Linked DNA regions of Homo sapiens: all the other regions are linked to region 1. Evidence: promoter capture Hi-C in human tissues and cell types (Jung and others, 2019). All regions are on one chromosome and are shown on one strand. The core of a region is centred on a gene start or on the middle of the fragment in contact, and the rest is flanking DNA. Distances in the headings are between cores, read along the strand shown.

Region 1 (2,564 bases), core at 38-2,537:
CCCCGCTGCACCATTCACACTGGAAATATTCAGGGAGACAGCTGTTTGCCTTAAGGAGGCCCAGACAAAGGGGCCCGAGGTCCTCCCCGCTAAACTGCCACAAACAGAACAGGAGCCGCGGCGTGCACAGGCACTTGCGGCCGTGCCACTTGGCCAGCCATACTCCAGAAAAACAAAACACGCACATCCGAAGAGAATGATTTAGGTAGCAAGAGGCTTGCTTGAAAAACCACATGGCAATCTCCAAATTAAAAGAACATGTGTAGCGTTTCACGACTGCTTAAGTTTCCTGAGTCCTCCTGACCTCAACTCCACCCCCTGGGAAACACCAAAAGTTGGAGAGAAAGTTCCCCCGCCCTACCTCTCCCCACGGGAGTGTACAACTGAGGCACAAGCCTGCCTCCCCCACTGCCCCGCGATCTGGGACCACGTCACCTCCGCGTAGCCGACCCGGGGATGGACACTATCTGGGGACCCGGCGGCCACACGGGGCATTCGGGTCGCCCGGGCACCTGGCAGGTGTCAGTCCGCTTGGAAACCCACAGCCACGCGGCTCACAGGAGCAGCGCCACCGGCCAGGCCGCCCCGCGCCCGGGCTCAGAACTTTCTCGCTGCAACTTCAGCCCGTCCTCGGAGCACGCGGGGCGGCCGCGCGGCCGCTGGAAACAGGCTTGCGAACCGGCTCCCCGGGCCAGGCCCGCCTCCGCGCCCCAAGTCCCCGCTCGGTGCCCGGCCCGGGCCACACGGGCCCAGCGCGGGCTCGGCTCGGCTCCCGGCTTCCCGCGGGCTCGGGCAGGTGAGGACCCGCCCGCGCCGCACCTGGCGGAGCGGGCGCCCTCCTCGCCAGCCCGGGACGCAGCGTCCCCGGGGAGGGCCCGGGTGGGGAGACAAAGGGCCCGCGCGTGGCGGGGACGCCGGGGACGGCAGGGGGATCCCGGGCGCGCGCCCCAACTCGCTCCCAACTCGCCAAGTCGCTTCCGAGACGGCGGCGGCGCCCGCGCACTTGGCCGCGGGGCCGCCCGGGCCATTGTCCGAGCAACCCGCGGCCCCCGGCCGGCCTGCGCCCACCTACCCGCGGCGGGGGCCGGGCAGCCGCACAGCGCCAGCAGCAGCAGCAGCAGCAGCAGCAGCGGCCACGGCGGCCCGGGCGGCGCTGCCTCCATGTTGTCCGGCGGCCGGACGGGCCCGCGCCGCGCTCACTCGGGCTCCATGGCGCGGCGGCGGCGGCTCCTCGCGCGGCTCCCGGCGCCTCCGCCTCCCCCCTCGGGCGCCGCGGACCAGGACGACGGGGAGGAGGGAGCTGGGCGCGCGGGAGCGGAAGCCGCGCCGCGTCTCCGCCCCCCGCCGCCGCCACCCGCGCCCCCCGCACCGGCCGCGCCCTCCCGCGGGCGCCCCCCGGAGCCGGCCGGCGGCCAGGCGGCCCCAGCGGCGCAGGTCCCCGCGGCCCCTCCCCGCGCTCCCCGCCCTGCCCTGGAGGTGCCTCCGGGAGGCTTGGCGCGGGGTTTCCGCCCCGCGGGGCCCGGCGGCCGATCGGGGCCCGGAGCCAGGTGTGTCACCTGTGGAGCCTCTATGAGTGGGGAAACTGAGGCACGGAGCAGGGCGGGGTTGCCCAAGGGCACACAGCGAGGCAGTTTCAGGGCGGGCAGCCTGGGGCCCCACGGGGCGGCCCCGGACACTTGTTCTCACCTGTGGAGGGCAGAGAAGGGAACAGGGAGAGAAGTGGCCGGCTGGGAGTGGAGGTGGGTTTGAGGTTTTACTGTAAACTAAATGTGTACCCTCTACCTTAGTTATGAATTATGAGACACGAAGACTGCGAAACAGACACACTCCTCTAAAAGTGCCTCTAGGCTGACAGGGAGAAAGTCCCGCCAGGCTCCCAGACGCCACCTTTGAGTCCTTCAACAAGCCCGCCAGGGCCTCTTGCCCACCGGTGTCAGCTCAGCCACTGAACCCTCCAGGAAGAAGACGTGCTGGTAGGAGAAGAATCTCACCCAGGCACAGCCTGGAAGGGGCACAGAAGGGGCTCTGGAACCAGCAAGCCCAAGTTGGAACTCCCAGTCTGCTACTTTCTAGAACGACTGTGCCCTTGGCGGGTCTAAGTAGAACCTCTCCGCGCACTCTTTCCTCCTTTGTAAAGTGGGGACAGCAATGGCCACCTTGCAGGTTCAGAGAGGGCTTGCAGTACCTCACAGAACTGAGTGCCCGTGAACGTGTGTGTTCCTCCAGATTTGTGACAGCTTTGCCAGGCTGGAGTCAGGCTGAACGCCTCTGCCCTCATGGGGTTTATATTCTAGGAAGACCAACAAAAACAAGAAGACGGAAAATTAAAACAACAAAAGCCCCATTGACAGGCCATGAAGAATGCCATGAGAAATGAAGGGCGTTGTGCTGCAGTGTTTGGGGAAACTGGCTTAGGGAAGGAAGGACACTTGAGCTGCTACCAAGGAGCAGCCGTCCGGTGGGAGGGCAGTTCAGGAAGAGCAGACATCCACGGAGGAGGCGCTGGGGCAGAGGGCAGCCTGGTCGCTGGATTCGGGGGAGGAACCACATCAGGCCATGAGCTG
Region 2 (2,564 bases), core at 29-2,528, 170 kb before region 1:
CGTGATCTCAGCTCACTGCAAGCTCCGCCTCCCGGGTTCACGCCATTCTCCTGCCTCAGCCTCCCAAGTAGCTGGGACTACAGGCGCCCGCCACCACACCCAGCTAATTTTTTGTATTTTTAAGAGAGATGGGGTTTCACCGTGTTAGCCAGGATGGTCTTGATCTCCTGAACTTGTGATCCACCCGCCTCGGCCTCCCAAAGTGCTGGGATTACAAGTGTGAGCCACTGCACCCGGCAGTCGCAGACAGAATACTTTCTAATTCATTCTATGAGGTCAGCATAACCATAATACCAAAATCAGACAAGGACACTACAAGGCAAGTACAAATCAGTATCTCTCATGAACACAGATATAAAAATCCTCAACAAAATATGGGAAAACTGAATCAATACATAAAAATAATTATACATAAAAAGCATTATATATAAAAAATTATATACCACAACCAAATATTTATCCCGTATTTAAGGCTGCTTTAATTTTTTTCTTTTTGAGACTCTTTTTGAGTCTCAAAAAATTAGGTGTAGCTTTTTTTTTTTTCTTGTATTTTTAGTTAAGAAAGTGGTTTCACTGTGTCACTCAGGCTGGTCTCAAACTCCTGGCCTCAAGTGATCTGTCTGCCTTGGCCTCCCAAAGTGTTGAGATTACAGGTGTGAGCCACTGTGCCCAGCCAAGGCTGCTTTAATAATCAAAAATCTGTCGCCGGGCATGATGGCACACACCTGTAGTCCCTGCTACTTGGGAGACTAAGACAGGAGGATTGCTTAAGCCCAGGAGGCCAAGGCTGCAGTGAGCCAAGATCATCCCACTGCACTCCAGCCTATGTGACAAAGTGAGACTCTTGTCTCAAAATAAATAATTTTTTAAATCAATTAATTAACATGACCCATCACATCAGTAGGTTCAAGAAGACTCACCTGATCACATCAACAGATGCAGAAAAGGCATTTAATAAAATCCAACACCTGTTCATTTCAAAAAACACTCAGAAAACTAGGAACAGTAAGAAGCTTCCTCAACTTGATAAACAACATATATCAAAAACCTACAACTATCATCATAATTGATGGTCAGAAATTAAAGCTTTCCCACTAAGATCAGGAAGCGGGCAAAGATGTTCCCTCTCATCATCCTTTTCCATCATATCATACTGGAAGTCCTAGCTAATTCAATAAGAAAAGGAAATAAAAAGTATACAGATTGGAAAGCATAAAATAAAACTGTCTTTGTTGACAGACAACATGATGGAGAAAATGTGAAGGAATTGAAAAAAAAAAAAAAAAAAAGTCCCAGAACTTATAAGCCATTATACCAAGGTTACAGGCTACAAGGTTAATATACAAACATCAACTGCTTTCCTATATACCTGCAAGGAACAAGTGGAATTTGAAAATAAAAAAAAAATTATTTATATTAACATATCCAAAAAATGAAATACTTAGGTATAAAACAAAATATGTACAAGATCTATATAAGGAAAACTATAAAACTCTGATGACAGACCCCAAAGAAGAACTAAACAAATGAAGAGATATTCCATGTTCATGGATAAGAAGGTTCAATATTGTCATGATATCAGTTCTGCCTAACTTGATCTACAGATTCAATGCAATCCTGATCAAAATCTGACAACACATTTGATAATCAACTATTATCCAAAAATATATAAAGAAGGCTGGGCGCTGTGGCTCATGCCTGTAATCTCAGCACATTGGGAGGCCGAGGTGGGTGGACCACCTGAGGTCAGGAGTTTGGGACCAGCCTGACCAACATGGTGAAACCCCATCTCTACTAAAACACAAAAATTAGCTGGGCGTGGTGGCGGGCACCTGTAATCTCAGCTACTCCGGAGGCTGAGGCAGGAAAATCACTTGAACTCAGGAGGCAGAGGTTGCAGTGAGCCAAGACTGTGCCATTACACTCCACCCTGGGCAACAAGAGCGAAACTCCGTCTCAAAATATGTATCTTATATTATATATATATAAAAATATATATAGACACTTAAAACTCAAAAAAATGAACAACCTGATTAAAAAATGGACAAAAGACCTGAGCAAACATTACAGACAGCAAGTAAGCATTTGAAAACATGTTCAACATCATACATCATTAGGGAACTGCAAATTAAAGCAACAATGAGATAGCACAACACATCTATTAAAATGGCCAAACTCAAGACACATCACCAAACACTGTCAACAATGTGGGGCAAGAGGAACTCTCATTCATTGCTGGTGCGAATATAAAATGGTACAGCCACTGTGGGCAGTTTCTTCCAAACAGCAAACATACTCTTTCTGTACAATACAGTAATCATACTCCTTGGTATCTGCCGAAGTAAAGTGAAAAAACTTACGTCCACACAAAAACCTGCACACGGATATTTACAGCATCTTTATCCACAATTGCCAAAATTGGGAAGCAACCAAGCTATCTTTCAGTAGGTGAATGAATAAATTTGGGCACATCCAGACAATGGAATATTATTCAGCACTAAAAAGGAATGAGCTATCAAGCCATGAAAAGACATGAAGAAAACTTAATGCATATTATTACGTGA
Region 3 (2,564 bases), core at 41-2,540, 150 kb before region 1:
AAAAAATGGCCAGGCGCGGTGGCTCACGCCTGTAATCCCAGCACTTTGGGAGGCCAAGGCGGGCGGATCACAAGGTCAGGAGATGGAGACCATCCTGGCTAACACGGAGAAACCCCATCTCTATAAAAATACAAAAAAAATTAGCCGGGCGTGGTGGCAGGCACCTGTAGTCCCAGCTACTCGGGAGGCTGAGGCAGGAGAATGGTGTGAACCTGGGAGGCGGAGCTTGCAGTGAGCCGAGATAGCGCCACTGCACTCCAGCCCGGGCGACAGTGTGAGACTCCGTCTCAAAATAAATAAATAAATACAAAAAATTAGCCGGGCATGGTGGCCGGCCCCTGTAGTCCCAGCTACTGGGGAGGCTGAGGCAGGAGAATGGCGTGAACCCGGGAGGCAGAGCTGGCAGTGAGCCGAGACCACGCCACTGCACTCCAGCCTGGGTGACAGAGCGAGACTCCGTCTCAACAAAAAAAAAAAAAAAAAAAAGAAAATGTCCTAGCTAGGCATAGAGATAAGATACCTTTCCACATACTGTCAAATGCCCTTTTACTTGCTTCTTTACCACGTAGCCAACCTACCTGGTATCCAAATGTCAGTCTGTAATCTTTCAATACCTGAAATAAACTGAGTATTGATCTAACTAGCAACTATCTCCCTCCTCATAAAACTAAAGGGGGTGAGAAGTAGGAAAGGGGGCTTCCATGACAAATAAATCTAAGCCAAAGTCAAAAGGCCAAAACAAAATCTCCAGTCAACCTAGATCCATAATGCAGCAGGAGAAACACCCCCTCCCACTTGAAGTAGCATCTATTTCAAGAATGCCGGAAACATTTTGCAAAAACCTACAGCAAGCTTCGGACGGGTCTGGAACCAGAGAGTCAGTGTCTGAGGTTTGGTCAAAGGATAACTGTTGTGTAGGGAGCTATAAACAGCTATCTGTCATTACAAAACGGCTTCAGTATGGGAAGAATGGCACTGCTTTTTAAGACTCCTCAAACTAAGGAGGCAAGTCGAAGTAATCATTTCTTATAAATGAGTAACAAAGTGTAACTATCTTATTCTTTTGCAAAACTTCTGGCAATCTCAACCACCCAAAGTTTAAACAAATCAACCAACTGACCAGCAAACAGAAGCTCTTTCCTCCCAGGCCCCATTGACACCATGTACAATTCTTAACAGCTTTGTCGTCTCTTGTTTGCCTCTTCCTCTAGACTGCAGGTCCTTAAGGGCCTGTTCATCAGTGAATCCCTAATACAGTTCCTAGCAGAGTAAGGACTCAATTAATGTATTTGCTGATGAAATAAATGGATATTAGAAGTAGATGGTGGTCACTGGTAGTTCTCAACATAGGCACAGGCCGAATTTCAGGATGAAGAATAAGAAAATGCCTCCATGACCTTTTGTAACTTCAGATATTAACATTTAGCTGCTAAAAATTTATAGTTTTCCTAATATTCTTCCATTCCATAAACTAGATAATCTAAATTTTAATATGAGCAAAAAAGATCTACCCTTCTCTCTACCACTGCATCTCATCTCCCCAGGAGAAAAGAACACTTCTCTGCTGGGATCAGAGTCTAGGGCACAGAAGAGTCCAACTTACCAGTGGGCAGGATCACTGTGTTAAAGGCTGAGCATACTGTATGCCTATCTGTGCCCTCAATGGGCAGAACTGGTAAACTGATCCAGGGCTAATTCTCTGGGAATAGGTCTTTATTAAAACAAAAACAAAAACAAAAAACAGGCATGGTGGCTCACGCCTGTAATCCCAGCACTTTGGGAGGCCGAGGCGGGCGGATCACTTGAGGTCAGGAGATCGGGACCAGCCTGGCCCACATGGTGAAACCCCATCTCTACTAAAAATACAAAAATGAGCCAGGTGTGGTGGCACGCACCTGTAATCCTAGCTACTCAGGAGGCTAAGGCAGGAGAATCACTTGAACCCAGGAGGCGGAGGTTGCAGTGAGCCAAGATCATGCCACTGCACTCCAGCCTGGGTGACATAGTGAGACTGTCTCCGAAAAAAAAAAAAAAAAGTTGAAGCTGGCATCTAAAACCAGACCTGACCACTGACTGACAAAAGGAGGGCAAAAGATACTAACTCAAAAATTACAGTAGTGTAAGATTATTCAGCACAGAAGCAAACTCTAAATATCTAAGAATTTTGCTTAGTTTCAGCACAGTATGGTAATGTATTTTCATGAGGTTAAGAAAAAAAAGTCCTAAGATATTTTATAAAATCAATTAACAAATGCTTCTAAAGTTCAGTCTTCAGGCATCTGAAAAATGGTTAAGTATACCATCTAAATAATCCCCACTACTAAATAATCTCCAAGGCAGGATCTAGGTACTGCAAAGACCAAGTTCACAGATCACCGAAAGGAACCCTTAACTCACAAACAGTCCCTAAACCTGTGGTGTAAAACAGTGGTTCCAAAATTCAGCTGCATTTCAGTATTGTCTGAGAAGCTTCTAAAAAATAGATTCTCGTGGCCGGGCATGGTAGCTCACACCTGTAATCCCAGCACTTTGGGAGGCCGAGGCGGGTAGATCACGAGGTCAGG
Region 4 (2,564 bases), core at 46-2,545, 140 kb after region 1:
TAGTGAGCTGAGATCGCGCCACTGCACTCCAGCCTGGGCAATAGAGTGAGACTCTATCTCAAAATTAAGTCAGAGTTGAGCCCAGCTAAAAGGGATAAAAGTTACAGATGAAAGAGAATATACTACTGTATCTTCTTTCCTATCATGCCTGTTCCCTATGTTATCTCCCAGGAAAAACATGTAGCTCCTCATGTACCCACCCTCTGATATTTCTACCACAAAAATTTGGGGGGTCAGATATCTGAAAATGGATAGGTAAAAGAACTTTATTGCCAGGCCTCTGGGGTGAGTGTGTGTACATGAAATGTGCTTCATTTACCTCAGGATGTATTGAGCCTGCTAGTTGGATTATGTGGCTCCCTGTGTTGCAGATGGGTGTGTAGGTTTGAGATCTAGAGTCCTAGAGCTGTACCGTCCGGTACAGTAGCCACCAGCCCTTGAGTCCTTGAAATGTAGCTAGTCTGAATTGAGAAGCGCTGTAAGTGTGCTATACACACCAGATTTCATATTAAATTTTATTCCCATTCATAGTTCTTATATTACCTACTGAAATCGTATTTTGGATATTGGGTTAAAATATATTGTTGGCTGGGCATGGTGGCTCATCTGTAATCCCAGCACTTTGGGAGGCTGAGGTGGGCGGATCATGACGTCAAGAAATCGAGACCATCCTGGCCAACACGGTGAAACTCCATCTCTAGTAAAAATACAAAAAAAAAAAATGAGCTAGGTGTGGTGGCACACACCTGTAGTCCCAGCTACTTAGGCTGAGGCAGGAGAATCACTTGAACTCAGGAGGCAGAGGTTGCAGTGAGCTGAGATCACGCCACTGCACTCCAGCCTGGGCAACAGAGCGAGATTCCGTCTCAAATAAAATAAAATAAAATAAATTGTTAAAGTAATTTCACCTATATTCACTTAACTTTCTCAATGTGGCTGCTAAAAAATTTAAGATTGAAAATTTGGCTTGCATTATATTCCTAGCAGATGGTGTGCTCTAAAGAGTGGCACCATGATTCCGGATCCTCATAACCCTTACTGCCACTGGTCCCTGCCTGCTTCATCCAGCAGTCAGAAAGTTTAATTCATTGCCGCAAGTATTTGAGTACTTTCTGCTTGCAAAACACCACACCAGGGCATTCAGAGACATAGGTGGCATAGTCCCTGTCCTGGTTGAGTTTCCATTCTCTTGCAGGAATAAGATAGGTACACAAGTAACCATGGCACAAGGCTGTGGAGCTCCAGGGTAGGAGAGAAGATAGCCAGGTGGGGATCCCAGTGAGCTAACTAAAGTATAGACAGCTAGGCCTTTTCAGTTTCTGATATTTATTGTCAGGATTATTTTATTAAAAGAAGCCTTACTATATTTAATTACTAGTAATTTTTAACACATCACATATTTTAAATAGGAAACGAAATGACAAAATAGAATTACTGGTGGGTTGTATTGCCGAACTTTCAGAAATTGAGGAGAACATGCTACTTAGACATGGAGAAAACGACTTCAGTGTCATGTACTCCACAAGGAAAAACTGTGCTCAACTCTGGCTGGGTCCTGCTGCGTTTATAAACCATGGTAAGCTGTGTTTCCAAGGTGTTGGCGCTAGTGTTGGCCATTCCTGCTAACTGCTAGAATGGCCTTGTCAACCTCAGTCAAACCTTTATCTTCCTTTAAAGGAGAATTTGAAATAGAAATGTTTCCACAAACTTATTAAAATAAATGTATATTCCTTTAGTTGAACTTGAGACCTAAACTCCTATCAAAAGTTGTAAAGTTATATGGAAAGCTTATTTCAGATTTCTATAATTGTTCGTGTTTCAGATCTTATCAACAGTTAATTGACTTTATCTTTTGGACATTTTTCAGATTGCAGACCTAATTGTAAGGTAAGCATTAAAAAAATTTTCTTCAAGTATTTTGTTTTTGCTTCAGGTGTGAGTTTCTTACTGAGTTACTTTTATTTTAGTTTGTGTCAACTGGTCGAGATACAGCATGTGTGAAGGCTCTAAGAGACATTGAACCTGGAGAAGAAATTTCTTGTTATTATGGAGATGGGTTCTTTGGAGAAAATAATGAGTTCTGCGAGTGTTACACTTGCGAAAGGTAAGGTATTAAGTAAAATGTTCAGCCTAAACATTTTTTGTTAACAACCTGATTATGGGGATTAAACTCACATTATCTCTTTGTTGTTTAAATGCAGAGATAGTCTTTATGTTCTTTAGCATAGCGGCTGGTGCAGTGTGTATGAACAAAGTCAAATGCTGCACAGCTATTTAGGGACATTGGAATGTCCCTCAATAAATTTAAAATTTCCCTTTAAAATCTTAATATTACCAGCTAAGAGTGGGCCAGAATACAGATGTGCTTAAGGAGAGAATGGTTAATAGCTCACACACATGCACACACGCAATGCCAGAATGGGGTTGCCGCTACTCAAAATGTCAAGTGGAGTTCACCACTGATAGTCGTCTTGCATATTATCAAGCTGTGTCTTCTGGAATTTTGGTTTCACAGTTCTTAAGAGTTGTTCCCTGATATCAGTCATTCAATAAGGAACCTCTTC

Evidence for each region. The method cuts DNA at HindIII sites, captures the fragments that hold promoters and counts their contacts. A contact is called where the count stands out against the background at its distance.
Region 2: a contact is called between a fragment that was not itself captured here and the fragment with the promoter of LRP5 in region 1, in 1 of the 25 tissues and cell types used here (hippocampus).
Region 3: a fragment that was not itself captured here is called in contact with the fragment with the promoter of LRP5 in region 1 in 2 of the 25 tissues and cell types used here (dorsolateral prefrontal cortex and mesendoderm cells).
Region 4: a contact is called between a fragment that was not itself captured here and the fragment with the promoter of LRP5 in region 1, in 3 of the 25 tissues and cell types used here (IMR-90 fibroblasts, adrenal gland and aorta).

Annotation. Positions count from the first base shown.
Region 1 is chr11:68,311,314-68,313,877 of GRCh38, reverse strand. LRP5 (LDL receptor related protein 5) reads right to left here and starts at 1,287. Exons shown (of 23, transcript NM_002335.4): 1 at 1,073-1,287. The coding sequence starts at 1,163. LOC124900302 (a long non-coding RNA gene) reads right to left here and starts at 429. Exons shown (of 2, transcript XR_007062749.1): 1 at 1-429. RefSeq lists enhancers at 1-425, 426-1,301 and silencers at 723-792, 803-962, 1,153-1,352, 1,373-1,662. The HindIII fragment of the contact is 14,214 bases long and covers 1-2,564 here.
Region 2 is chr11:68,483,999-68,486,562 of GRCh38, reverse strand. All of the region lies in intron 1 of PPP6R3 (protein phosphatase 6 regulatory subunit 3), which reads right to left. Among named protein-coding and RNA genes, the nearest start is that of PPP6R3, 25 kb to the right of the region's middle. The HindIII fragment of the contact is 3,598 bases long and covers 1-2,564 here.
Region 3 is chr11:68,464,356-68,466,919 of GRCh38, reverse strand. All of the region lies in intron 1 of PPP6R3 (protein phosphatase 6 regulatory subunit 3), which reads right to left. Among named protein-coding and RNA genes, the nearest start is that of PPP6R3, 4.9 kb to the right of the region's middle. The HindIII fragment of the contact is 5,718 bases long and covers 1-2,564 here.
Region 4 is chr11:68,170,555-68,173,118 of GRCh38, reverse strand. KMT5B (lysine methyltransferase 5B) reads left to right here. Exons shown (of 11, transcript NM_017635.5): 7 at 1,410-1,576; 8 at 1,868-1,887; 9 at 1,968-2,104. Among named protein-coding and RNA genes, the nearest start is that of KMT5B, 41 kb to the left of the region's middle. The HindIII fragment of the contact is 8,103 bases long and covers 1-2,564 here.